Linked DNA regions of Homo sapiens: regions 1, 2, 4, 5, 6 and 7 are each linked to region 3. The links are contacts of gene promoters, found by promoter capture Hi-C in blood cells and fetal thymus (Javierre and others, 2016). All regions are on one chromosome and are shown on one strand. The core of a region is centred on a gene start or on the middle of the fragment in contact, and the rest is flanking DNA. Distances in the headings are between cores, read along the strand shown.

What was found. Contacts are between HindIII fragments. The CHiCAGO score rates a contact against its expected background, and 5 or more counts as called.
Region 1: a contact is called between a fragment that was not itself captured here and the fragment with the promoter of PNPT1 in region 3, in 3 of 17 cell types (activated CD4 T cells, naive CD8 T cells and fetal thymus). The highest score is 6.8, in activated CD4 T cells.
Region 2: a contact is called between a fragment that was not itself captured here and the fragment with the promoter of PNPT1 in region 3, in 1 of 17 cell types (endothelial precursors). The highest score is 5.7, in endothelial precursors.
Region 4: a fragment that was not itself captured here is called in contact with the fragment with the promoter of PNPT1 in region 3 in 1 of 17 cell types (activated CD4 T cells); the score reaches 5.0 in activated CD4 T cells.
Region 5: a fragment that was not itself captured here is called in contact with the fragment with the promoter of PNPT1 in region 3 in 1 of 17 cell types (endothelial precursors); the score reaches 8.1 in endothelial precursors.
Region 6: a contact is called between a fragment that was not itself captured here and the fragment with the promoter of PNPT1 in region 3, in 1 of 17 cell types (endothelial precursors). The highest score is 6.0, in endothelial precursors.
Region 7: a contact is called between a fragment that was not itself captured here and the fragment with the promoter of PNPT1 in region 3, in 1 of 17 cell types (endothelial precursors). The highest score is 9.5, in endothelial precursors.

The regions. Positions count from the first base shown.
Region 1 is chr2:55,267,126-55,270,144 of GRCh38, forward strand. It overlaps MTIF2 (mitochondrial translational initiation factor 2), which reads right to left and starts at 2,106. Exons shown (of 16, transcript NM_002453.3): 1 at 2,044-2,106; 2 at 1,453-1,614; 3 at 444-510. RefSeq lists enhancers at 2,049-2,198, 2,144-2,967. The HindIII fragment of the contact is 171 bases long and covers 1,506-1,676 here.
Region 2 is chr2:56,074,817-56,077,888 of GRCh38, forward strand. It overlaps LINC01813 (long intergenic non-protein coding RNA 1813), which reads right to left. Exons shown (of 2, transcript NR_135590.1): 2 at 1-3,072. All of the region lies in intron 3 of LOC105374690 (a long non-coding RNA gene), which reads left to right. Among named protein-coding and RNA genes, the nearest start is that of LINC01813, 14 kb to the right of the region's middle. The HindIII fragment of the contact is 313 bases long and covers 1,211-1,523 here.
Region 3 is chr2:55,692,200-55,695,099 of GRCh38, forward strand. PNPT1 (polyribonucleotide nucleotidyltransferase 1) reads right to left here and starts at 1,645. Exons shown (of 28, transcript NM_033109.5): 1 at 1,464-1,645. The coding sequence starts at 1,624. RefSeq lists a silencer at 835-894 and enhancers at 1,465-1,584, 1,595-1,654, 1,685-1,834. The HindIII fragment of the contact is 6,564 bases long and covers 1-2,900 here.
Region 4 is chr2:55,225,461-55,228,275 of GRCh38, forward strand. It overlaps CLHC1 (clathrin heavy chain linker domain containing 1), which reads right to left. Exons shown (of 13, transcript NM_152385.4): 2 at 2,572-2,744. Among named protein-coding and RNA genes, the nearest start is that of CLHC1, 5.4 kb to the right of the region's middle. The HindIII fragment of the contact is 770 bases long and covers 1,109-1,878 here.
Region 5 is chr2:56,152,697-56,155,789 of GRCh38, forward strand. LOC105374690 (a long non-coding RNA gene) reads left to right here. Exons shown (of 9, transcript XR_940109.3): 7 at 2,565-2,645. Among named protein-coding and RNA genes, the nearest start is that of CCDC85A, 30 kb to the right of the region's middle. The HindIII fragment of the contact is 3,113 bases long and covers 281-3,093 here.
Region 6 is chr2:56,012,661-56,015,522 of GRCh38, forward strand. It overlaps MIR217HG (MIR217 host gene), which reads right to left. Exons shown (of 3, transcript NR_126406.1): 2 at 949-1,051. All of the region lies in intron 3 of LOC105374690 (a long non-coding RNA gene), which reads left to right. Among named protein-coding and RNA genes, the nearest start is that of MIR216B, 13 kb to the left of the region's middle. The HindIII fragment of the contact is 796 bases long and covers 870-1,665 here.
Region 7 is chr2:56,124,270-56,127,392 of GRCh38, forward strand. All of the region lies in intron 5 of LOC105374690 (a long non-coding RNA gene), which reads left to right. Among named protein-coding and RNA genes, the nearest start is that of LINC01813, 35 kb to the left of the region's middle. The HindIII fragment of the contact is 4,725 bases long and covers 1-3,123 here.

The DNA of each region.
Region 1 (3,019 bases), core at 341-2,840, 430 kb before region 3:
AAATGTATGGTTCTGACATGGTAAATAGAATATACTGAATTTTTTTTTTTGAGATGGAGTTTTGCTCATCGCTCAGGCTGGAGTGCAATGGCGTGATCTTGGCTCACTACAACCTCCACCTGCTGGGTTCAGGGGATTCTCCTGCCTCAGCCTCCCAAGTCGCTGGGATTACAGGTGCCTGCCAGCACACCCGGCTAATTATTTTGTATTTTTAGTAGAGACGGGGTTTCACCGTGTTGGCCAGGCTGGTCTTGAACTCCTGACCTCAGGTGATCTATCCGCCTTGGCCTCCCAAAGTGCTGGGATTACAGGCGTGAGCCACCGCGCCTGGCCTATACTGAATATTTTTTAAAAGAAAGAAAAGAAATGATAACAGAAACAAGTACAGTATAGCAAAGAAAGTATCTTATTAGGCAACAAAGGAACCTTAGGTGGACACTCACTCTGACAGTCAGTGTTATCTGGACTCAGCAAGTCACTTGTTTCCTATGGGCCTCATTTTCCGGATCTCTGTTAAAAATAAATAAATAAATAAGTGTTTGAATATCTGTCCTTCCTATTACAAGACTAAGAGGAGAAAATGAGATGATGTATATACTTTATCATCAGCTATTTTAAAACCATATCACATGTCTTGATACTCGCTTATAAGCTTTGAGGATTCATTGCTTATAAGTTAAAAATATTCACAAGTCATTAACTTGTTTACCTTCGGACAATTATGAGGTTGTGTATGTGTGTGTAATCGAGCAAGCATTTTACCTTAAAAGGCTTATTCGAGTAAAGATCAAGGAAAAATCTAACTTAATGCCAACGAAATAAACACATTAAGATTTAGAAATTCAGGCTGGGCGTGATGGCTCATGCCTGTAATCCTAGCACTTTGGGAGGTCGAGGCGGGCGGATCACCTGAGGTCAGGAGTTCGAGACCAGCCTGGCCAACATGGTGAAACCCCCTCTCTACTAAAAGTACAAAAATTAGCCGGGTACGGTGGCGGGCGCCTGTAATCCCAGCGACTTGGGAGGCTGAGGCAGGAGAATCGCTTGAACCCAGGAGGCAGAGACTGCAGTGAGCCGAGATCAGGCCACTGCACTCCAGCCTGGGCGACAGTGAGACTCTGTCTAAAGAAAAAAAAAAGAAGATTTGGAAATTCATTCAATAGTATTTACACACATTAAATACTTCTAAGAATGGCACATGGAAAATATCTTATTTACGTTTGTGCCCCTGGACCAAGAAGTAGAGTGCTCAGGTAACACAGGATTCCTTGAGAAAATAATTTTTAAATCAGTATGAAACCAGATTTGAGAAGAGCACAGATTAATGGAGTGGGAGGAAGGACCCTACGAGATATTAACCAAAGCACAGATATGTAATTGAGGCAGGAACTGGAAAGACACATTGGAGGCAATAACCCAAATGTCAAAACTGGAAGGAAACTTGTCACTTACTCCAAGCTCCTCATTTTACAGAAAAGGAAACGGAAATCCAGAAGGGTCAAAAAAGCTTCTCCAATGTCATACCGCTAGTTAATGGCAGTCAAGACTAGAACCCAGACGTTCTGACTCCCAGTACGGTGTTGTTTCGCCGCTAGGATATCCTTGTCAAGGAATCTGAAAAAAGTATGTTGCAAATACGTAGTTGCGTTAGGGAAAACGTCTGAATGTGAGCTGGAAGCTTTGGAACTTACCAGAAAGGTAAAAATAAATCACTGCAGAAAAATTACGGATCTGGGGTGGCTCGCCTCAAATTGGAGCCCAGAAGGCCTTGGGCCCATGGGAGGCTGGGAAGTGAGGACCTGCACCCACAGCCGCGCGCGAGGAGGGGAAGCCGGCCAGCCGCTTCCGAGAGAACAGTGCACATGCCTTCGTGAATGCCTAACGTGGGCTCACGCAGGGATTAAATGCATCTTGGAAAGGCTTCCGAACGCACAATGTTTATGAAGTTCGCGTGATTTGTGCCACTGACACGTTAGGCGAAACAACACACACCACCTGCACCGGACAACCCTGGTTAAGGGATCCTACCCACTTAACTCCTACCTACAGCCCCGGGCCCCTGGATTCTGAGCACGGGCGGAGATCACCTTCTGGACCCGGAAGAATGGTCGGTAGGTCAGTCCGTCCCCGCTACGGTCCCCGCCGGGCTTCCGGTCCCGCTGGAAAAGGTTCTTTCCGGAATTCAGAGAGTTGCTGTCGCCGCTGGGGGTGGGACTGTCTGCGGTGTCCGCGGCGGGCGTCCAGCCTGGGAGGCGCTGGTTCAACCTGTGGCTCCTCCCAGGGTCAGCCGCGCGTGGTGAATCGTTTCTGCAGGTCCCTTCCATTTCTTACTTTCCTTTCCTTTCTTTCTCTCTTTCCTTTTTTTCTTTCTGTCCCTCTCCTTTCTTTCCTTCCTTCCTTTCTTCATTTCTTCCTTCCTTTCCTCTTCCTTCCTTTCCGTTTTTCTTTCTCTTTTTTTTTTTTTTAAGAAAACTGCCTTTATTCAATTAGAAGTTGGAAAAATTAACTGGTACAGAAAAAAAGTGTAATCAGCTGGAGAAAAAGTGCCACCCATGAGAACTGATGGCTCCTCTGGGAGGGAATCTGGATACAGTGAGGATTTCTAGGAAGCAAATTACTTCTTCTCTGGGGCTATGAGAGGCCTCGGTGGTGCTTAACACTGTAGGAAACGTTAAATGGAGAATTGTGGGAGAAATGATACCTCCTTCAAAGATACGTGTTCCTAACAAGAAGGAAAAAACAAATGCAAGCGAACAGTGGCGGTAGAACCAGTTAGTATTGTGCGAACAGTACTTTCTGTTTTCTCCTAAGTCAGCTCGTGTGTATGGCATTAGGAGTAATAGAGCCAGAGTGCCTGGTTTCCTATCCCAGCTCATTCCTAGTGTGTGGTTGGGAATGTTTTGTCAACTGTCCATGTCCCAGTTTGTTCATCTACATTATAGTAATGACAGTAGCTAGTTCACAGGATTGTAATAAGGTTTTTGTTGTGTTTTTGTTTCTATTTGTTTTTGAGATGGAG
Region 2 (3,072 bases), core at 117-2,616, 380 kb after region 3:
AGGTTACCTTTAAAATAATTCTAATTTTTCAGAAATAAAACACTCTTATATTTACTCTTCTTAGTGATTGGTGTAATTAGATGGAATGATTTTTGTCCCAATCTCTTTGTGGTTTATATGAGGAAAAAAATCCATATTTTTATTTTCCTGAACTTAAGTACCCCATCAAGGCTTAGAATAAACCTCAGTAGAAATTTGCCAATATGTAGAAAAAAGTTTGTGGCATCATCAATTTTCAGGCCAGGCAATATTCATTAAGTTTGTAGTAGATTTTTAGGTTCGAGGATGATCATCTCCCTTATGCCTAATCATTATTTACTTAAGAAAACAACTGTGGGCTGGACTCTAATATTTGCAAGCTGTGTGACCTTACCCAAGGTACTTGAACTTCCTAGTTTGAAACCCTATGACAGCTTTGTATTACTTCAAAATTTATGCTCTTTTTTTTCTTACTATGGCAAACTTCAGCATCTTTTTCCTTTAAGCAGTTTTGATCATTTCAGCTGCAGTTTTCATTTTATTCATCTGTCAGTATTATGTGCTAAAGCAAGTAAGGTGACATGGTATGAAAACATGTTAAAGCAAGCAAAGTGAAGTGATCCTGGGGATATGTTGAACCAAGTAAGGTCAAGTGAAGCTAGGGGTGTGCTTGGAGGCTGGACGAAGACAGAGAGTGAAGGAAAAAATGGCAGCTTCATATCTCTGGAAGTGGAATGCATAGCATTATATTTTATCCTGTGGTTCTTCAGCATTTGGCTTTGCTATATAATTAGGCAGAGGGGATATTTATGGGATTTAATAACTGTTGTTTCCATCCTTGTCATTAGGATCCAGAAGTTTCTTAGATTATGAGTGCTCCAGAAGTGAAATTAATACCCTCTGCTAGAGCTGAAAGTTGAAAGTTCCTATTGTCAAGATTTCAGTTCTGTCAGCTTTTTCTTTTTTGATCATTAAAAGTGAGGCATTCTCGGACTTGAACAGCACACCTCATGAAGGAGATCTATGAGGGATTTATGATGCTTGGTTGTAAGAGAAGATGACATCCACAGAAAACTGGTAATCTTGGAAGGACAGGCAAGTAGGTAGTTGGAAATAGTTCAGAAACGTTTGCTTCTACAGTTCTGAAGGCAATATATGTCAGACTTGGAGAGCTCTAGAGAGGGGCCACTCACCTTAGAGTTGAAGACCATGGAAATTTAACCTGCTGTCAAGCTTTGATCATTACATACAGTCACTGCCTCATCGGTTGAGGATTAGAAAATCAAAAAGGTTCAAAACTTGGGATGTTATAATGTCAGCATGCTAATCAGAATTTCAGAAGTACATGCTCATGGAAATAAAATTTCAATAAAAAATAAGGGTGCCAGATGAAAAGTGTGTCTAGTTCCACTATCCATAGCCTGGTTCTCAAGAGGCTGCCACCCATGATGTTTTCTGTCTTTAGCTCTTCCAGGGATTATCACTATAACTCGAAGTATCTGTTTCATACAACATTAATATCTATTTCTTATCTTACCAACTTAAGCTTGTCTTTTAACTCTTTGCTGTAAAAGATTACTATTTCAGCTCATAGCAACTACTCTGCTTCGTTTTTCCCTGTATCTGCTCCCATTTTTTCTTTTTGTTCTTCTATTGTTTATACTTTAAATAATATTTTTGACTTTTATTTCTTGTTCTGTCAACTTCAGACATATCATGGTGTATGATATGGAGTCGGTCACTCCTACACGCTCTCCCATCTCTCCTTCCCACCTCTAACTCCTACTGTTCATCATTTCTACCACTACTTTTATATTGCCAAGGTTTAAAACATTTACATTCTGAATGGAAATTTTAATTAAGTATTCATCGCTTTGTCTATACATTGATTCAGAGAAGCAAAAATAGATAAACATCATTTATAATATTATGATATTGTTCAATATTATTCACTGCAGAACCAGAGTGCAGCTGTAGAGGAGATATAATTTATATTCTTAAATCAGATCTACTTAAAGTAGAATATTTCAAGTTCTAAGTCAAGATTTTCTTTTCTTAGACTCCATAAATTTCCTATAATAATGCTTCATATTTTCGTCATGAATTTTTGTACAGCATTTTCCTTTTCCTGGAATTTCTAGTTTCCCTTAATTTTTCTTATTGAAGTCGGAAACATAAACGTTCTTCATTATGCACCACCCAAAAGCCAGCCAACAGATTCTTTAGCCAGATGCATTATTAGTGTCTGCTCTCTTTCAGGTTCCCAATGCCAGGGGTCTCTTCATAGAGTAACAGATTCCACCTTCACTGCAGCTTCTCTTGCGGCTTCTCTTGTACTCTGAATAGTTATTTTTCTCTGTTCTATTTTATCTGTTAGTGTAATCCCATATGCCATGCATTTTTAAGAGAATTTCCTAATTATTTCACCTATTCATATCCTATCCTTTTGCATATCTTTACTATCATTTCAATGGGTTTAAGAGAGGGAAGTACAAATATTTGCTAGGTTCAATATGTTTAATCAGAGCCCTCAGAATTATTGGTTTACTATAGTCAGAAATTGGTATCCAAGAGGAAAACGTGCATCTAAAATTTACAGACTATGCCCCAGATCTTAACTTAGAGAGGAAGCATTTATGCTTATTGCATGAAAGTCCTGTTTTAAATTTGGAGTATCTTTTTCACGTATTTTATCTTGTAACCTACTTCGAATTAAGACGCCACCTGAAATTCATAGCACTGCAAAAATTGCTGATGTTGCATCATCTGTCCTCATACAGGTTTCATTATCTTAAGCACTTGGAATGAGACCTCACTTCATCATCGAAGGAGATTCAATGTCTATAACTCCATAGATGTCAAAGGACAAAGTACAGCTTCTGATAGGGTCTTAAATGCAAAAGGTGAATTTGCTGGATTCAGCAACCACCAGGTGGGGCCAAGGAGTTTCGCCTTTGTCAAATAGGAGCTTTTACTGGAAAAGCAGTATGTGTTGCTGCTGAGCAATTTCTAGAAGGAGTTTCAAACTTGTTGAGGTAGTTGTTTCCTCTAACATCATGTATCAAAATTGTCTTCTAAAAGAGACAATGTGGG
Region 3 (2,900 bases), core at 395-2,894:
TCTAAAGGGTTTGTAAACACATACACACAGTGTGTACCCCAAAAAGCCTAATATATATATTATCTGGTCCTTTATAGAAAAGTTTGCAGACCCTTGATGGAATCCACTCTCCACACTTTGCACAAGAAAATGGTGAATTAACCTGTTCAATGTCAACTACTTATCAAAGTTAGAGTGCGAGACCTGGATTCAAAATGATTTTTTTGCTTTTTGTATGAACTGGGGTCCAAATTTTTTCAAAGTACACGTAAAAAATTTAGATATATGAAGTTTGCATTAGCAATTCCATTTATTCTAAGAACGATTAAAGCAAACTTTTTTTTTAAAAAGCGGTCCCCTAAAAAAAAGTATGGGCTTTGTAAGCAAAAAACAGAAATTCAAAAACCACCTAGTCCCATAATACTAACTTTTTTATAGACTCTTAGAAAGTTATCTAACCTTTTTTGAGCCTCTGTAGTCTTAACTATAAAATGAGGGTAATAGTACCTTTACGACAGGTTTAAAAAGATTGCGAGGATCATATAACTGGCGTTCAAAAAACTGACTTTTCCTTTTCCTCCTAACCCAGGGTCATAGTGGTCACACTTTAGGCAATCAATTAGATTGGATGACATGATATCTTGTACTCCTAACTTCAAGTCATCCTTCCGTCTTAGCCTCCCAAAGTGCTGGGATTACAGGTGTGAGCGCCTGACCTTTTGCCATCTCTTTGCATCGATCTTTGCTTTTGTTTCTCTCTGTGTGTCTCCTTGCCTCTCTCCCTGTCACTGTCTCTCTCTCTCCCCTGCCTCCCTCTTGGTCTCTTTTTTTTGCTGTCTCTTTCTGATGACCTTGTTCCCATCTCTGTGCGTGTGTGGCTCTCTCCCTGTCCATCTCTTACCATCTCTGCCTTCCTCTCCCAGGTCTTAAACGAATATTTCCACAATGTCTGTGAACTGGACCTGGTGTTCAACTTCTACAAGGTAGGCTCCTGGTGAAGAGGAGGCTGAAGGAGCCCGAGGAGTGGGACGTGGGGGACCCGTGGTGCACTAGCCACCCGGAGCCTCTGCTGAGGTCTGTGTCCCAGCTCGAGGGGCATCAGAGCCCCAGCTTCCAGGGTCCGGGCCAGCATCCCGGGGGGCCTCGTCTCACCCACGTCAACTCGTTATTCCTAGGTGGAATGTTTCCCACTTAAGAGCCCAGTGGTCCCGGAAAGTAAAGAGATCGGAAGTCAGGTGGACGGACAGAGTCGGATGGAGCAAAGAAGCCCGGCACACACCAACAGAGAGAACGACATAGCGCGGGAAGGAGGGTCCGAGGAGACACATTCCAAACCCGGAAAGGGAAATTTGGAATTTAGGTTTAGGGTAAGGAGAGATTAAATAGAGCTGGGATACCGGGTTTCTACCCTGGGAGATGAATACGCTCAAGCTGGCTGGACAAGACACCTTATGACAATACAGTGAACGCACGTCACTCCTTACCTGTTGCCTAAGTCCACGGCCACAGCTCGAGACCCTGCGCTACTCCATAGTGCTCGCACTTGCAACTGGGTGAGTGCCCGATCCCGCCGTGGCAGAAGGAAAGGACCATCGCTCAGGGGCCGGAGCCGGAGGCACGAGCAGCAGTACCTGCAGGCCGCCATGACACCCGGCACGCGGTCAACGCAGGCTGTGCCCTGATTGGCTCACTCCGCAGACCGTGGGGCGGAGCCTGATGGAGTTTCGTTTCCGCGGTGCCCGAGGGACGCCGGGGTAACGGAAACCTTGGCCACCTTCTACGAAGACTAGAGAGGGTCAAACCTATCAGAACGCGATTATGTTGCAAACGATCTTTGTCTTTATGTGCCAACGAAAGGCAATTAGATAAATAAGGTTTTTGTGTGTGTACTATCGTAATTTAAAGGAGAAGTCCTAGAATAATGTAAATGTTTAATATGCAGAGTAAATTTATATTTACTTTTAATACTAGAAGTCATAGAACAACACATTATTATTATTTGGATCTGTGAACTAAGAATTAGAATTTGGGTGGTGGGCCTTGGAAAGAGATCTCCTTCTCCCCTTCTCCGCCCTGGTTTTTATTTTAAAAATTTCACATAGCAGATATGTTACTACAGCGATTTGTGTTAACCAATTTACAGTAAATTCATTTTTCATCGACTTGTAATTTTAGAAATCTTTATTGTCACTTCTGATTCATTTTCATTTCCATTGCTAATAATTAGCAATTTATATTTCTGTCCCTTTTGGTCGAACTCTTAAATGCAAAATGCCAGCTACTGTTTGAAGTAAATATTTTGTAAAATGAAAAAAAAAAGTTTTTGGGATTTGAAAAATTTTTAGAGAATGGATAAATTTCTTCCACCCCATTAATCCATTCTGTTAGAAATTCTTTATGTTTTTCCTTGAATGAACCAATGGGCATTTTCATATTATGATGTAAATTTTTTGTGTAAGGTGATAACCGCCTTACCCCAAAGAAAACCAAACAACAAAAACCCAACACTCATTCAAACACAGTTTTAAGAATTAAAAACGTTGGCTGGACGCTGTGGCTCACGCCTGTAATCCCAGCACTTTGGGAGGCCGAGGCGGGCGGATCACCTGAGTTCGAGACCAGCCTGACCAACACAGAGAAACCCCGTCTCTACTAAAAATACAAAACTAGCCGGGCATGGTGGCTTATGCCTGTAATCCCAGCTACTCGGGAGGCTGAGGCAGGGGAATCGCTTGAACCCGGGAGGCGGAGGTTGCAGTGAGCCGAGATCGCGTCATTGCAACAAGAGTGAAACTCGGTCTCAAAAAAAAAAAAAAAAAAAAAAAAAAAAAAAGTCCGGGCGCAGTGGCTCATGCCTGTAATCCCAGCACGCTGGGAGGCAGAGGCGGGTGGATCACGAGGTCAAGAGACCCAGGGCATCC
Region 4 (2,815 bases), core at 244-2,743, 470 kb before region 3:
ACATTCTCCCAGGGCACTCTGGACCCGGCAGTGGTTGGGGTCTCCCGGGAAGCTGAGTGCTGGCTTACAGCCTCTCTGTAAGCTCTGGCTTCATCTCGGGCCCCTCCAATCTGTCTCCCCTGACCCCAAGTCAGGAATGCTGTGGGCTTCCTGCCCTCACCCCGCACCTCATGACCGTCACGCTGCCTGCCTGCTTGCCCCCTGCCACCTCGAATTCAGTCCTGGATGCCTTCGAAGCCCAGCCCCACTGCGTGCCAGGGGGTTCCTGCAGCATCCCCTCCTCCAGGCTCCCCATCTCCCTGAAGCTTCCAGGTAGCAGTTGGTGGGGCACTGATCTGTGAGCTCTGGAATGTCTGCTTAGATTTCTGAGAGGCAGGAACTGCTGTCTTTGTAAGTACTCAAGGCCAACTGTCACGTGATGAAGGAATGAATAAAGAATTTTTACTGAAAGGCCGGGAGCGGTAGCTCACGCCTGTAGTCCCAGCATTTTGGGAGGCCGAGGCGGGCGGTTCACGAGGTCAGGAGATCGAGACCATCTGGCTAACATGGTAAAACCCCGTCTCTACTAAAAGTACAAAAAAATTAGCCGGGTGTGGTGGCGGGCGCCTGTAGTCCCAGCTACTCAGGAGGCTGAGGCAGGAGAGTGGCGTGAACCCGGGAGGCGGAGGTTGCAGTGAGCCAAGATCGCACCACTGCACTCCAGCCTGGGCAACTGAGCGAGACTCCATTTCAAAAAAAAAAAAAGAGAAAGAGTTTTTACTGAAAAAAAAAAAATTGTCCAACTGAAGTTGGATACAGAAGTTGGTGCCTAAGATTTAGTCACATTAACTTCAAACAGAACTCTTGGCTTGCTTAATAATGGCTGGCAAGGCAACATCGTAACTTTTTCCCTAATTACAGAAGCATACTCCTGGTATAAAATTCGGAAAATATAAACCAGACAAAATTAATGAAATAAATATCTATTTAATATTTTGGAATATTTCCTTCCAAACATTACAAAACTTGAAATTAAACTCTATATTCAGTTGTGCATCCCATTTTTTTCACTTAATATTAAAAGCACTTTTTCATGTTGTTAAATCGTTTTTTAAAACATGACTTCTAAAGCTTACACAGTATTTCATAGTATGATGTTCCATTAATTTATTCCCCCATTGTCAGATATTTTCACTATTTTTGTTTTGTTTTGAGACAGTCTTGCTCTGTCGCCCAGGCTGGAGTGCAGTGGCACGATCTCAGCTCACTGCAACCTTCACTTTCTGAATTCAAGTGATTCTCCTGCCTTAGCCTCCCGAGTAGCTGAAACTAGAGGTGCAGGGCACCATGTCTGGGTAATTTTTTGTAATTTTAGTAGAGATGGGGTTTCACCCTGTTGGCCAGGCTGATCTTGAACTCCTGGCCTCAAGTGATCAGCCTGCTTTGGCCTCCCAAAGTGCTGGGATTACAGGCATGAGCCACTGCACCTGGCTGCTATTTTCACTAATATAAACAATGCCATGATAAGTAAGTGTCTCAATCAATTGTATCATGTTCTGGCAATATAACTGATACCTGATTATGTGAATAACATATACAGCCTGTAAATACTGCCCATAGCCATATACAGAAGAGGAGACACCAAAATAATTCTGAAGATTAAAAGGCCAAAATTATCTTCATGTTGATGAACTGGATAGCAAAAAGTCAATTTATGAATTAATATAAAGTAGTTCCAGCAAGGGAATAACTCATTAATTAATCAAGTTTTCCTAAATGAGAAATACATTTGTTTATTCATTCATTCAGTCAGTATTTATTGAGTGTCAACAAAGCACCAGGCACCATTTCACAGCTAGGAATTCGGCAATAAGTAAGATAAGGTCCCTGGCTCCTTGAAGCTTATGATCTAGTAGGGGAGACAAACTATAAATAAATAATTTCAAATAGTAAAAGATAACCAGGCGCGGTGGCTCACGCCTATAATCCCAGCACTTTGGGAGGCCGAGGCAGGCAGATCACGAGATCAGGAGTTCAAGACCAGTCTGACCAACATGGTGAAACCACATCTCTACTAAAAATACAAAAATTAGCTGGGAGTGGTGGCACACGCCTATAATCCCAGCTACTCAGGAGGCTGAGGCAGGAGAATCACTTGAACCCAGGAGGTGGAGGTTGCAGTGAGCCGAGATTGAGCCACTGCACTCCAGCCTGGGCAATAGAGCAAGACTCCATCTCAAAAAAAAAAAAAAAGTAAAAGATAAAAGTCAAAAGAGGAAGAAACGGGTGTTATCATTAGAGAGGGGGTAGTGACATTTGGACACCAGTGGCTTCCTACCGTATTACCCTTAGGATAAAATCCAAGTTCCTTTACTTGGCCTATTAGTGCCCTTCAGAAACTAATGACTCTTTTTCTTTGACCAAATTTACTCTCTTCATGTCCCTGTCCTTTGCCCCATATCCCCATTCCCACACCCATGAACTTCCTCTCTTACCTTAGGATCTTACATAATTCTCTCCCCCTCCCTGCAGACCATCCTCCTATATTACCCCCAACCCCCAAAACACATACATACTATCACTTTGATTCACCTGGCTTTTACTCTTTCTTCAGCTTCAGGAAAGCTGTCCTGGATTCCCTTAAAATTGGTCAGATGCCACTGCTATGTTCTCCCATAATACTGTGCACTTCCTCCATCATGGTATTATCCTTCCACCACACTGCCTTAGAGACTTCCTGTTTATATTCTGTCTCATCTGTTAGGCTGTAAGCGTGACAAGATCAGGAAACAAAATGTTCTCTTTCCCCATCATCCCTCCTCTACCATATGCATTC
Region 5 (3,093 bases), core at 587-3,086, 460 kb after region 3:
GCTTAGTTTGTATTTTAGAAAGATCTTTGGTGACAGTATCTCCTCTTCTTCTTGAGGCTTGAAATAGAAGGGATTTTTAACCTTACATTTAATCACAGACTTAATTTGGTCTATACGCAAAGATTTACAATCATTCCAGGTATGCAGAGTATCAATAATAGAGGAGCTACCCAGAAATGTGTTGTTTCTCATTGAATATTCAGTGCGTGATATGAAGATTTATCTTGTAAATATCACTGGGTATAGCCTTGTAAATTCAAAGATACCTTATCTATAGTTAAGCTTTGAATATGGAACAAATGACGGAAGAATGAGTTTTTAAATGAAAAGATCAAAAAGGATAATTAATATTTCATAATCTTAATTAACTTTTCCACTGCACACTGATTTTGTATGTTATTTGGGGTGTAAGATGTGATTCGTGCTTTCATAACCAAATCAGATAATCTGGTCACAGAGTTGAATGTTAAAGGTAATGTGAACATCTTGTTTGGCTTGAGAAAAGAGTCATCAAGTTCCTCAATTAGCTCTGTGCTTATTCTAGGGAAGTTGCTACACAAGTGAATAAGATTGTAAGCATTTAGAGTAAGAGGCAAGTTATTAAGCATGCTGGGTTGGTTTCTACTGGTGAGAGATGGGTGAGTTGCTGGATTTTTGAGAAAGGAGGAACCCCACACTAGGGAACATGGGTTAAATCAAGTTGTCCAGTATATTTACAAACATGATAGGATTTAACAGATCTCTTAGAGCAGTAGAGTTGGCTGGTGCTTTCATGTTGGTAGACACCTGGCTCTTGAAACCAGCCAGAGTTATGTCTGCATACCTACCTACTGGCCCCGGAGAGGTGAATGGTGCATATCAACCAGGGATAGATGAAATTGGCCAGGACCTTTGATCATGATTTACTTTCCCTTTGGCCTCATCTTTCCATCTTGAAGCCCTTGGCTCCAAGACTTTGACTAGGACCCTACTTCTGACTCTGGTTCTACTTCTGACCCTGGTTCTACTTCTGACCAGCCCCTTCAGAACTAGCACACTTACTCCTGATATCTAGGATGTCAACTCTTTCCCTTCTTTCACCTCCCTTGCTCCAGTGATTCTTCCTGCTCAGGATGAGAATTCCCAACTTTATTCTGTTGACTTGGTTAATCTCCAGCTGGCTCAATCTCTGACTTCCTTGAGGTTGAGGTAGCATTTGGGGGAGAAAAGGGAAGGAGAGATTCAGATAATTAACCCCTGGGAGGTGACTAGAACTTCAAGTTCTGTGCTTGCTCCAGAGCATGCTGGTCCCATAAAGGCAAAATGAGAGCCAATATAGGACCTTGGAGAGGTGGTCAAGAGCAAGAGACCCAGTCCTAATTTATAGGCAGAGATTGAATTTTGTATAAATTAGGATATGCTAGATTTTGCTATATTAACACACAGCCCCCAAATCAGTGTTATAACAAAATGAAAGTTTACTTCTTATACATACAAAGTATCCAATGTGGTATGGGGTGACAACCTGCTCCAGTGTCCCTCAGGGACCCATACTAACCAAGGCTACCATTTTAGTATTTGTATCATGTAGGTCATGTGCACTTAACACTCCACAACAGGAGAAATAAGATTGGAGAATCCAGCATGGGTTTTTCATTGCCTTGGTGCAAAGGTGATACACTTCTGGCCACATTTTACTGCCTAGAACTAGTCAGATGATCCTGTAACTTTAAGGGGTTTAAATGTAGGAGAGGAAGTACAATATTTGGGGGTAATTACTGCCCCTACAACAAAATCTGTGGGTAAGGATTCCACCTGAAAGAGAGGAACAGGGATGCTGACATACAGGCCAAGAGTTTGGGGAAGCAAGTCCAGGGGAACCCATCCCAAAGAGAGGTGGAGGAAGGAATCAGGAGAGCCCGGGTCTCGCGCAAAGGAGCTCCAGGGAGCCCACAGCTAGCTGAGTTCTCATTCCCAACCACTAGAATGGCCTGGAGCAGGGACTGACATGCTGAATCTGAAAGCCACCTTCAAGGATCATTGTTTCACATTATTATGAAGGGAGTTTAATGATAACAAATGCTTAAATATATAGAGAATGCATTTAAAAACCATATGATTCATGCGTAATGTTTTGAATTAGTCAGTCACCATCCCAGGAGGAAATGTGCCATGTTCTGTTTTCATCACCTTATTGGGAGAGTTACCTACACTTCTGAATCATATACTTTGTGTATAAAATGGAGCTAATCTTTGATAAATTGTGGCTGTTTATTACATTAAGTAGTTATATTCATGACATCATGTAATCTTCTCTATAAACCTAGAAGATTATTATTATTACTAGCAACCCCACTTTGCAAATGAGACTGCTGACTTCCAGAGAGGACAAGGTTGCATAGCTAGTAAGAGGCTGAGCTGGGATTTAAGACATAGGTCTCAGATGAATCCAATATCTCATATTTGATTGCTAGAACTAAATAGAATATATAACATATCTGGTATTTCCTAGGAGCTCAATAATGTTGATTCTTCTTCCTCTTCTTTTCTCTTTTTCTTTCTTTCTCTCATCTCTGGAACTCCAGCCAAATAACTCATCACCTGTTGGGGATTCCTTCAGGGATTTGAGAAGTGCTAGTAAACCACTCACACAATGATTTCTCCAGGTGAGCATGGGAGTGAGAGTTGGTGATGGAGAGACTGGACACGTGCTCTTACCAGTCTTGCTTCTGGCTCTGTGCCCACGTGGAGGCTGGCAGAGGCAGGGGAAAGAGGGGACCAAAAGGAGTCACATGCCTACTTACCTCCCCCAAAATAAGAAGAGGGCTAGCTTTCACCCACCTTTTTCCCCTTTTGCAATATTTCTGTCCTTAGTGCTGTTGCAGGTGTTTGTTAATATTTGGATAAAGTGAGTAACTTGGTCATACAAATGTTACTTTTTCTTCAGCAGGGAAAGCTCTACCAATTTCCAGCTCTTCTAAAAAACGAAGTCATTTTAATCCCCATTCTTAAAAATATGTGGGTTTTCACACAAAATAAACTCCTTCATCGGCCTGATTCTGTGTTTCTCCTATTCTGGAAACAAGGTGTCGTAGGGCAGTGGGGTTGAAGGTA
Region 6 (2,862 bases), core at 18-2,517, 320 kb after region 3:
AGAGATAAAATGGGAGAAGAAAACTGCTTTTTAGTTTAGAATTTTTTTTGAAATTTCTGTTTAATTATCATTATTATCTACAGAGATGATTAAAAGCATCAAACATTTCCAGGATAAAACCCAAGCACAAATGGAAAAGGATTTATGCTAAATTGGCATTTGATAATTTCTTACAATAATCTGACGTAAAAGTTGTCTCCCTTTTATTTCAATTCAAGAATTCCTTTCATCTTTTACTCAATAGTCATTATCCTTTTTATTTCAATTCAATAACATTTACTGAATATCTAATATGTAGTATAGGCCCTGTGTCTCAGAAAAAACACTGGGTTAGGGTTTTTAAAATAAGTTTTAAAAGAAAGTAAATATTTTAAAGCCTAAATTTTTTTTAAGTTTAATGTTCAAAATACTGAACTGTACTAAAAATCACAATAAATCGCCATTCTTCCAAATAACGTTCCCTTTATGATTATGGGATTTATATAAACTAAATATTTGCAGAAGAAATTTCTTCAACTATATTGTAGGGAGAATGTCATCTTTTCAGATATGCTGGTTGGGAATAATCACTACACTAGTGGAAATGTTTGCACAAGCCAGCATTGAAAAGAGACGAGATTTCCCTTTATCAGCTTCTCAAAAATGACAACTAAAATTCTTAGTTTTGGGACAGGACAAAGGTCTAAGTCTGTCATTTTTTAAATGCCACATTTTTGAAATAACAATCAGGTGTTTCACTTTAAGTGTATTAAATTTAAGTGTATTAATATTTAATATAAATATTGAAATATAATTAGTTTATTCAGAAGCAAAACCCCAATCCTAATTTCAGCATATCTTAATAGAAAGCCTGGGTTTATGAATCCACAAGCTTTTTATTAAAATCCCAAGAGGTCAATAACAATCTTGTAATCACAAAATATGCATACAGGAGAACATCAGACTTACCAAGAAATATAGCTGTAACAGTGCATGACAAAAGGCACATTTTGGAGACATGATTCAATTTCCTGTTTTTCAGCATCAGGTACTTTATCTGACCATCTGAAGGCTTTAGAAATAGGTAAAAAAAAATGGGAGAGTTTTTAATATTAAGAGCTATGAAAGGTGAAAAACAGGCCCTGACAAACACATCTAAACAGATCCATGTATTTCATAACAGAAACAGTTCCATTTTCATTCTCAATATTTCTAGTTGAATAATTATCCACTATCCCAAGGATTCTTAATAAAAAAAATTTTACCCTTTTGAGAGGAAGACAGCAATGAGTTCATTTTGAAAGGTTCACATTTAGCTTTTAGCCAAAAGTGAACCTTTGGTGTCTTTTGAATCCTTTTTAAGTCTTGAAGCCTTAGAGAGAAACCAAAGAGAAAGAGATCAGATCGCGGCCTACCTCTTTCAGCCCTTGAGAATTCCCTTTCCAAGTAGTTTCTTAAATAGTGAGGCTGCATCAGAACCCCTAGTTCTTCTCCTTAGAAGTTATTAAATCAGCAGAAAGGCCGACAATAATGGCAAATGAAATCTAAGTTTTGTATAGGAAACAGACAGGCAGTCTACACTTTGTTATTCACTTGATAGACAGAGCCATTTTGACAGCCCTAACCTTGGAAACCACAGGTCCTGCTGAGCTCAGCAGGAGTCAAACGCTGAGTACCATCTGTCAAAGCTTTATTTTCCCCCCTCCTCATCCACGCCTTTACTATAAGATGCTAACAAGAGCCCTGAATGAAAGTAGCTAACTACAGTTAAACTCGTGTGCATTGTAACACTAATGTTGGGGTAAGAAACTCACTCCCAGAATCTACCAAATTTGAGTGAACAGAATTGCGTATTCTATGTCTTTTCTTAATGGTTATCAACGTTGAAAAAGTGTGGGTTGAGAAACTCCGTAACCACACTCCAAACAACTAATCCTCCAAAATAAGGAAATTGCACATCATCTTGTATGTTTTTGCCAATTCTGTAGCTAAAATAAATGGTTTGGAAAGTTCTCAACTCTAAGGCCTTTTTTTTTCTTAATGTAGTTTAATTAAACATGTGCAAGAACAACAAATTAATTTCTTTCTAAAAAATAGAGATTTTGATGAGTTGAACTTGTGCTTTATAAAATAAATCTCATTCAGAACAAACACTCTTTCCCTTTCTCCCTGGCATAAGCAATTCTAAAACATTAACAGGCCTGATAATAATAAAATCAATTAAATCAAGTGTGGTATAGCTCATGCGGCACTTGTGTAGAAGACAGTATATCAATTGAAACATGAAGGAGCTCACAAAGGCATTCCTTTCCACTACCAAAATGCTACATATTTTTTAAAGTACAAATTCATTTTGTTTGCATTTAAAAGTTATATATATTTAATGAAAAAATTTAGATACAATTTAAAAATCATTAATTTGGAATACCATTTTTAGCACACAGTTCCTTAAAAAATGTAGAGAACATTTCCATAAACACAAATTAAAAAAAGTAGCTTAGAATTAAAATGCTGAAAAAAGCTGAGATCTTTTTAGCAGAATTATTCCTAATTTTAATGTTTAGTTATTCTACTTGAAATAGTAATGTTTCTTTTTCCCAATTCTCCAAAATGCTGAAAATAGTTATAAAATATTGCTTCATGAGAATAATACTATATGTATGTACTAGATATACTGTATTATAGCAAGTAATGGTTTATCGTTTAGTAGTTAATTACATTGTCAAGAAGACACTGTGAAGAAGTATTATTAAATTAATTATTCATACGAGTGTGTACTTTTTTTTTACATTTTGCTGAATGTTCCATGTGTGCAGATTTTGCAGGGATTTGAGAGACCTTGTGTATAAACACCTGAAATGCTTTATGTGAAATAGTTTTTAT
Region 7 (3,123 bases), core at 397-2,896, 430 kb after region 3:
TTGTGAAGTCCTGATAATGTCAAGATTGCGGTGAGCTAACTTGCATTTGTCTATCAGTGAAGGCTCTGGTGATAGCTGGGCGCAGGAAGATTGTGTTATTTGCGCAGGAGGGCTATGTGTTCTGGACCATGAAGAAAGGCAGACTCACAGCTTACCTGCTTTTTCTTTTCACTTTCTCCTGCTCCCACCAGCCTGACTTCCTTTCCCTAATTAGGACTCCACCCCTCTGCTGAACTACCATATAACTAATTAATTCTTTAATATAGCTACATAATATCCATAGTATGGATATGCCAAAATTTATCCAACCATTTCCTACCAATAGGTGTTCAGATTAGTTCCATTATTTATTTTTTTGGTTTGCTTTGTTTTACTATTACAAATAATATAGCAACAAACATTTTTGTACATATATCCTTAGCTACTGGTGACTTTATTCCCAGATATAAGATGGCTAGATCAAAGGATATGTACATTTAAAATTTTGACATTACTGAATTTCTTTATTAAAAAGTCTTAATTCACATTGTTCAAGTAATGATTAATAGTGCTTTTTTCTCCATATGCCTGTCAGCACTGAGTATTGTCACTCTGTAAGTGTTTACATTTTACATAGTTCTTTTTTTTTTTTTTTTTTTTTTTTTTTTTTTGAGATAGCGTCTCGCTCTGTCGCCCAGGCTGGAGTGCAGTGGTGCAATCTGAGCTCACTGCAAGCTCCGCCTCCCAGGTTCACACCATTCTCCTGCCTCAGCCTCCCGAGTAGCTGGGACTACAGGCGCCCACCACCATGCCCGGCTAAATTTTTGTATTTTTAGTAGAGACGAGGTTTCACTGTGTTAGCCAGGATGGTCTTGATCTCCTGACCTCGTGATCTGCCCACCTCGGCCTCCCAAAGTGCTGGGATTATAGGCATGAAGCACCACGCCCAGCCCTTTAAATAATTCTTTATAATGGATATGTTTATGATGGGCACAATCAGTTTTCCACTGTTACTTTCATTGGCATTTCCTTCACTGCTAGTAAGGCTGAGCATACCTTCACTGCAATGGCAATTTTGAGTTCTTTTTTTGTGAATTGTCAATTCACAGCCTTTGCTCATTCTTGTATTGGGTTGTCTTTTTAAAGGTAGTTTTGTTAGGACCACTTCTGTATTGTAGATACTTTTTTTTTCTGTAGAGGTTCATTTGATTCAAAAACTTATGTAAACATTAAAAAGGATAGTTGAGAACAAACACAGTATATAGTGAACTATTTGGACTTTATACTGCTTATTAAATCTCTAATATAAGTACATGATAAATGTTATGGACTAAATGTCTTTGTCCCCCGAAAATTCATATGTGGAAACTTAACTTTCAGAAGCCCCAGGGGTTCCAGGGATGTTACCCGAGGGGCCAGCAAATGAGACAGGGCTGAGTTCCCATGTCTGTGTCTGCCCCTCTACTCTTCATAACCTCCAGCTCTCAGCTGTCAATAGAACCACTCACTTTTATCCATTTTATGTATTGGAATTTTACATACAATTTATTTGAGGAAAGTCCTGGTGCTTAAAATCAAATTTGAACACCATTGTTTTAAGGAATGTTGCCTTAGCAGGGATAATTCTGATATGAATATTCCACACATTATATTTTGAGGGAGTTCAATAGCCACGTGTAAGAAACATGATAAGAATAATTCCTGATTCCTACTTTCTTGTTACTAATGCTGGAAATTTCTCAGACCTACTAATCTGGGCAGAGGCATTTTAATCTGTGTAGTGGACTGTTATTATAACCATAGTTATGTTTGTCCAGCATGTCCCTTAATCTTCCTTCTCCTAGTCATACAACCCCTGTTTCAGCAGGGAGCCCATCCCATGTGTTTTAGGGTAGATATATGACCCAAGGCTAACTAATTAGAATACACAGTCCACCTGGGTATAGCAAATGTTTCAGAGAGGATACATGATTAAGTTAGGCCAACCGGAGCCTGCCCTGAGATTTTTATTGGAATTATTGGGAAAATGGATCTGCTTGTTTCACTAGAACCACAAGCTGTAAGGATTAGGTAAACCTAGAGCTGCTGGTGGTTCTCTTTGCCATCACATAGGAAGAGTGTACCTTAAAATGAAGCCGAGACCAGAAAGGCAGAGCTGAGAAATTGAGGGATTTCTGAAGACACCGTTAAGCCCCTGGATCCAGCTATTCCTGGAGTTGGTTTGCCTCTTCAACTTCTCATTTATGCAAATTCCTTTTGCATTTGAGTTGAGTTTCTATCTCTTATAGCTCAGAGCCACAGCCTGCTCTCTGCATGATTCTTGCTGGTGGATGTCCTGAGCCAGGTTGTTGGGGAAAGAGAAAAGAATGAGCCCCTTCATGGGGAAGCAAACAATATTGAGAGGGGCTGCAGAATTGTGTAGAAAGTTGGAAGATATTGAACCCCCAATGAGGGACAGGCAGGGTAGAACATGAAAGAGAGGGGAGGTGAGATCAAAATTGCTGTGTTGCCCATGGTTCCCCTGAGATGTGAATACCTGTACTTTGAATTCCTCACTCCTGGGGATCTAAACCCTTGGGGGCATTTTGCCTCCATTTCCATGCATATCACTGAAGGCCTTTCTAATAGCGTGTTATCAGAAGACCTTGCACGAGTCAGTGTTCTGGACTGTGAGCAACAACTCAGGCAGGGAGTGGAGAAGGGCAGGACCATGAGATGGACTGGAGGAGCAGGAGGGTAAGCTGACAAGAGGGTGCTCTGTCAATGTTACCTGAGGCAGGACTGATTGTAGGAGAGCAATGGAGCTTAGAGGAAACTGCAGATGCAAGCACTGTGATGATATTCTTGGATCCATCAGAGACAATTTCCAGGGGAAGCAAAAGATCCAAGGAAGCAATGTCACAAAAAGGCAGATGTCTCTGCATTGTGATCCATGCCAGGGTCTCAGACCTTGCTGGTTGATTACATCATCCCTGTGATAAAGCAGTCAAGCAAATGTGTAGTCACCAGAATTCAGCATTTAAATGTTATTGCTATTTTTAAGGCTTACAGGTTGACATAGATTCAGTTCTGACTTGTGCACCCTGCGTTTATTAAAACAATTAAGTCTGTCTTACCTCCCCAACTCTGTCCTTCTATCCTTCT